Regions from separate parts of the Homo sapiens genome. Here region 1 is linked to region 2. Evidence: promoter capture Hi-C in 16 types of primary human blood cells and fetal thymus (Javierre and others, 2016). All regions are on one chromosome and are shown on one strand. The core of a region is centred on a gene start or on the middle of the fragment in contact, and the rest is flanking DNA. Distances in the headings are between cores, read along the strand shown.

What was found. Contacts are between HindIII fragments. The CHiCAGO score rates a contact against its expected background, and 5 or more counts as called.
Region 1: a fragment that was not itself captured here is called in contact with the fragment with the promoter of PLD4 in region 2 in 1 of 17 cell types (endothelial precursors); the score reaches 5.1 in endothelial precursors.

What each region holds. Positions count from the first base shown.
Region 1 is chr14:104,956,393-104,959,092 of GRCh38, forward strand. AHNAK2 (AHNAK nucleoprotein 2) reads right to left here. Exons shown (of 7, transcript NM_138420.4): 2 at 1,222-1,280; 3 at 1,018-1,116; 4 at 196-297. Among named protein-coding and RNA genes, the nearest start is that of AHNAK2, 21 kb to the right of the region's middle. RefSeq lists an enhancer at 636-805 and a cis regulatory region at 721. The HindIII fragment of the contact is 4,463 bases long and covers 1-2,700 here.
Region 2 is chr14:104,923,553-104,926,252 of GRCh38, forward strand. PLD4 (phospholipase D family member 4) reads left to right here and starts at 1,327. Exons shown (of 11, transcript NM_138790.5): 1 at 1,327-1,438. RefSeq lists enhancers at 1,500-1,669, 1,652-2,161. The HindIII fragment of the contact is 16,221 bases long and covers 1-2,700 here.

The DNA of each region.
Region 1 (2,700 bases), core at 89-2,588, 33 kb after region 2:
ACCAGATGTAGCCTTCTGGAGCCCCTGCCCTTCCCCAGGCCTGACAAGGGGGACAAGAACACCCCTCCTCCCCAGGGCACGGGGCACACTGCCAGCCTCTTTGCTCCTCCCCTGCCTGCTCTGACCTCGGACTCTCTGGCTGGATCCCTTGAGGACCGACACACCTCTGTGACCCTCAGCTCCTGCTGTACCCACCTCTGGACGACTCATCCTGAAAAATGTCCGTGAGTCCCCTGAATCTCGCTTCCACCAGGATCTCCGTCTCCCAGCAGAACCTTGCCTGCCGGGGGCGTCTTCCTGCAGCCACAAGTGTTGGGAGTTAGGCACCTGCCCCAGCTCAGGGACAGGGAGGGGCACAGGTAGGCTGGTGCCAGACCAGGAGCCCTCCCTTCAGAGGGGCCCAGAACTTCCAACACACAGCTGTGTGCAGAGGCAGCCGAGTTCCTCCAGGCACATCCACAGAGAAAAGGCAACTCTCGGCCTTCCTGCTTCCCGACAGGGCCCAGCCTACAGCCCACAGCACCCACCCTACAGCCCACAGCGCCCATAGGGAAGCCCCACAGCAACTGGAGTTTTGTATGGAGGGAGATAAGAAATTCAAATTGTACAAAAATGAATCCTTTCATAGACATGCCTCCTCTGATCCCTTCCCCGAGTCCTTGTCTCCAGAGGTAGCCATGGGGCCCTGTCCCCAAAGACAGCATGAGTGTGTTACACAGGTGCAGGGATGCACACACCCTGTGCCCCTGAAACACAAACACAGTAACATGAGGCCTGTCCCCATCAGCCCATACGCATGCTCACAAGAGCTGCAGGGCACCTCCATCCCACTGTGCCCTGGCCGGCCACAGGGAGGGACCCAAGGGCACAGAGGAGTCTGAGAGGACATCTGAGTGGGCACTGCCCAGTGGGCAGCGGGGCAGGGCAGCAAGGTTGAACAGACATGCGTGAGTTGCCCACACAGGGCGATGCAGGAGGAGACCTGGGTGCCTGTGGGGCTCTGCCCAGCAGGCTCACCTGGAGTCCAAAGTCGGCAGCCTCAGTCGTGTATTCGTAGACAGGTGAAGACCCCTGCGGCCGTGGTCGAATGCCCTCATCCGCAGGCCCTTCAGTCACCTGACGGGAGAGAATCCAGTTATTTTTGCCACTCGGTTCTCCCAGGGCCCAGGGAGAATGGGGGCAGGGTATGAGGAGGACACACTTCCTCCTGCTCTCACTTACAGAGTGGTCATCTTCCGTTTCTGCACCTGGCTCCCCGGGCTGCAGCTGACGGCCGGACACTGCAGAGAGAGTGGCTGTCAGTGGAGACAAGCAGGCTGGGGGAGCAGATCGGGGCCCGGGGGAGGGAGCCAGGACTGTATGTACACTGTGGAGGTGTCATAGTCCTTTCCTGGACACTGGATCGGAGAGCAAACTCAGGGGCTGGGGGAAGATCTATAGCCAATGGGCTGGAGAGGCTGAGGCATCACGTCAGGTAGCAGTGAATTGAGACTGGACTTATTCCAAGTTGGAACAGATTTAGTCCAAGAAAGTGACTAAACAAACACAAGGCGTTTGTTATTGTATAACCACACCCTGGGAGGATCAGAATCCAGAGCTGCCAGAATATATTATCTAAAATGTCCAGCAGCCACCAAAAAATTACAAGTTACGCGAAGAAACAAGAATGTATGGTCCATACTGAGAAACAAAGCAGTGAATGGAAAGTGTCTCTAAATGTCTACTAATGCTGGGTTTAATACAGACTTCAAAGAAACTATTAAAAGTTTGTTCAGGCCGGGCACGGTGGCTCATGCCTGTAATCCCAGGACTTTGGGAGGCTGAGGCGGGTGGATCACCTGAGGTTGGGAGTTCGAGACCAGCCTCACCAACATGGAGAAACCCCATCTCTACTAAAAATACAAAATTAGCCAGGCATGGTGGCACATGCCTGTAATCCCAGCTACTCAGGAGGCTGAGGTAGGAGAATCACTTGAACCTGGGAGGCGGAGGTTGTGGTGAGCCGAGATTGTGCCATTGTACTCCAGCCTGGGCAACAAGAGTGAAACTCCGTCTCAAAAAGAAAAAAAAAAGTTTGTTCAAAACACAAAAACAAATCATGTTTAAAAAATTAATGGAAAATATGTTAACAATGGCTCAATGAAGAGAGAATCTCATAAAGAAATAAAACTTATTTTTTAAAAGCAAGCAAAAATTCTGGAGTTGAAAATTTACTACTGGGGTTCACCAACAGATTTGAGATACCAGAAGAATTATCAACTTGTAGATTAATATAAATTAACCAATTTGAAGAACGGGGTCAGGGGGAAGATTGTTTGAAGAAAAACAGAGTCTCAGAGCATTAACCATAAGATAAAGAGGCAGAAGAGAGAGTTGAAGAAGTGATAGCTGAAAACAATCTGCAGAATCCAAGAAGCGCGACCAGACCTAAGCAGGAGAAACACAGAGATCCACACCTAGAAACGTCACAGTCAAAATGCTTAAGAGAAAGGGCCCCATCACATAATAAGGGCACAAAAATACAACTAACACCTGAATCACATCAAAACCATAGAAGCTACGAGAAAGTGGAACAATATATTCAAAGGGCTGAAAGAAACTGTTGTCAACGAAGAATTTGATATCAAGCAACCTATCCTTCCAAAAATAAAGGCAAAATAGTCTGGGCATGCTGGCTTATGCCTGTAATCCCAGCACTTT
Region 2 (2,700 bases), core at 77-2,576:
GCACTCAAACCTGGGGTACAAGAGCGAGACTTCTCTCAAAGGAAAAAGAAAAAAAAAAAGACAGAAGAGAACCTGTTCTGTCTAACTGCCTTTTGCTTGAGTGCAGGGAAGGCAGCCTCCCTTCATACTCATGCCCCAGCCCTGCAAATGTCACAGCAGGACCCACCTGGCTGCCCCTCCCCATACCCAGAGTAACCCTCACCCAGAGTCCCTGGAGGACCCAACCCTCGGGGGCATGCCTGGGGCCCAGCTGCATTCAGGCATCCAGCAACCCAGCCAGAGGGCTGGGGCTCCCCAACCATGGCCGGGAGGTAAGGGCTGAACCCAAGGCCAAATCAGAGCATCAGGAAGGTGAAGAGAGATCTGGGAGGGGCTAGGGAGAGGATGGATCTCTTCCCCATTCACTTCCTGGCCCACCCAGACTGGCCCCAGGGGTGCAGCTGACAGGCCCCACCCTTGGGAACTGCACCCTCCTGACTGGTGTCCTGCAGGCACCCTGAGGCCATCACCCTGGACCCCTGCCCTACATAGGCCTTACAAGGAGGAGCCAGGGTGGACACCCAGACCTCATTGAAAGTAGGAGTGTTCTCAAGGTCCCAGACCTTACTCAGGGACCCCAGTCGGGGGGTGGGGCAGTGGGAGGCAGAGCCCCTTGCTAGGAGCTTCTAGCCAGGCCCACCTTTTCAGATATGCCAGTGAGCAGCCCCAGCTTCGTTCTCCAAGATAAAGACCCTAGTTACCTCCATTGCTCAGCCTCCCTTGCAGCTAAGTGTAGCCATGTGACTAAGTTCTAGATCAAGTTCCAGATCACAGATAAGTGGAAGTGCCCTGTGGGACTTCCAGGAAGTCTCCTCTGGGATGTCCCTTATTCTCTGCTAAGAACACAGAGGCAATGGCTGAGTTCCAGCAGCCACTGTGAGGCCATGAAGGCAGGGATCCTAGGGACTGGGATCTGAGAGCCTGGCTCCCAATGGCAGTGGAGCAATGCCATCATCTCTAGCAAGGCCGTCTCTAGCCTGCCAGCCCCTGGACCTGCTTAGTGTTCGAGAGTAATGAACAACCTTGCTGAAGCCACTGTTCCTTAGGTGTCTGTGGCCTGCAGCTGAACTTGACTCCGATTCGTAGGCCCGCAACTGGAGGGCCTCTACCTCGAGGGAGTGGGGTGTAGATTTTTCCTGGAGGTGAAGGTTCTCAGCCCTACCCTCTAGCCCGCCCACCCAGCTCCAGCCGTCTGTTTCTGTCTCAGATGAGAGGGGGCCTCTCAGGACAAAGAGGAAGTAGCTGGAAGGGGAAGGAGCCAGCTGCAGAGAGGAGGAGGTGAGCTGCAGAGAAGAGGAGGTTGGTGTGGAGCACAGGCAGCACCGAGCCTGCCCCGTGAGCTGAGGGCCTGCAGTCTGCGGCTGGAATCAGGATAGACACCAAGGCAGGACCCCCAGAGGTATGTGCCAATGAGGCCAGGGCAGCTGAGAAAAGCCAGGCATGGGGAAAGGGCTGCTGTCTGCCTCCCTATGGCCTCAGCCTCCCAGCAACCCCAGGTCCAGAGAGTCACACAGCCTCCAGCTAGTCCTGTAGATGACTCGCTCCGTCCCCAGTCCGTGCAGCTGGGATAAGCTGGGCCCTGGCTCTCCAGCCAGGTGACAGCTGGGCCCTCTACCTCAGCCTGGGACTGGCAGCCATGCCTAATGCCCTGCAGGGCAGGAAATCTGGCACCTTCAGCCATGACCTCTGATGTCTGCAGGGTCTTACGCTATCTACCATGGGACCAGGGGGCTACAGCCCTACTCTGCAGGGGTCTCTCAGCTTGAGCCAACCTGGCTGGCGGTCCTCCCAGGTTCCATTGCAGGAGGAGGTGGTGAGGCGCTCTGGGGTCTGTAGTCCTGGGAGGGGACTTGGACAGGCTCCAAGTCTGAGATGGGGCCTGCAAGAGGCAGCGCCTCTGTGCTCTGAGCTGCCCGTCTGCCTGGAGCATTTAAGGGAGCAAAGGTCCTCTCTGGTGAGGGCAGGGAGTGTGGGGAGCAGCTGTCCAAGAACAGCCCTGGCACCTCGTTGCCCAGCCACAGCCCAGGATTCCATGTTTCCTCTCATTGACCAGCCACAGCCCAGGATTCCATGTTTCCTCTTCTGAGAGTTAGTGGGGGAGAGCAAAGGCCCGATGCTGGGCCCTGAATCCCTGGGGACAGTGGGGACACGGTGGGCACCCTGAGGTCTCCTCTGTGGGGTGGGGGGAGCATCCCCCAGAGTTCAGCTCTGGGGTGGGGGCGGCACCCACCCACCTCTGCAGGACCCCCCAGCGTGGGGGGAGTTGGGCCGCAGTGACTTGGCCTGAGTCCCCTGTCCCCACACTTGGTTTATGCTCCTACCCCCAATCCCCCATAACGCTTGGTCTCCAGGGCAGACTCAGTCCAGGCCCGACTCCTGTGGTGTTCCTGGCATTTCCGCCCCATGCTGAGGCAGGCCAGGTTCTCAAAGCCCTCAGCCCTGACCCGTGGGAGGACAGCCCAGACGAACCCCAGAGGCCTGGAGGCTGAGCTGGCTGCTCCTGGGTGGACAGCCGACCCACCGAGCCCTGGGTCCCAGCGCCCAGCCTGGCTGCAGACACTGGCACTCAGCACTGCCCAGGCCCAGGCCCCAAACCTCGGAGACATCCCCATCCCAGCCAGGGGCCAGCCAGCTCCTGCCCTGGTGGATGTCTCAGTCAGA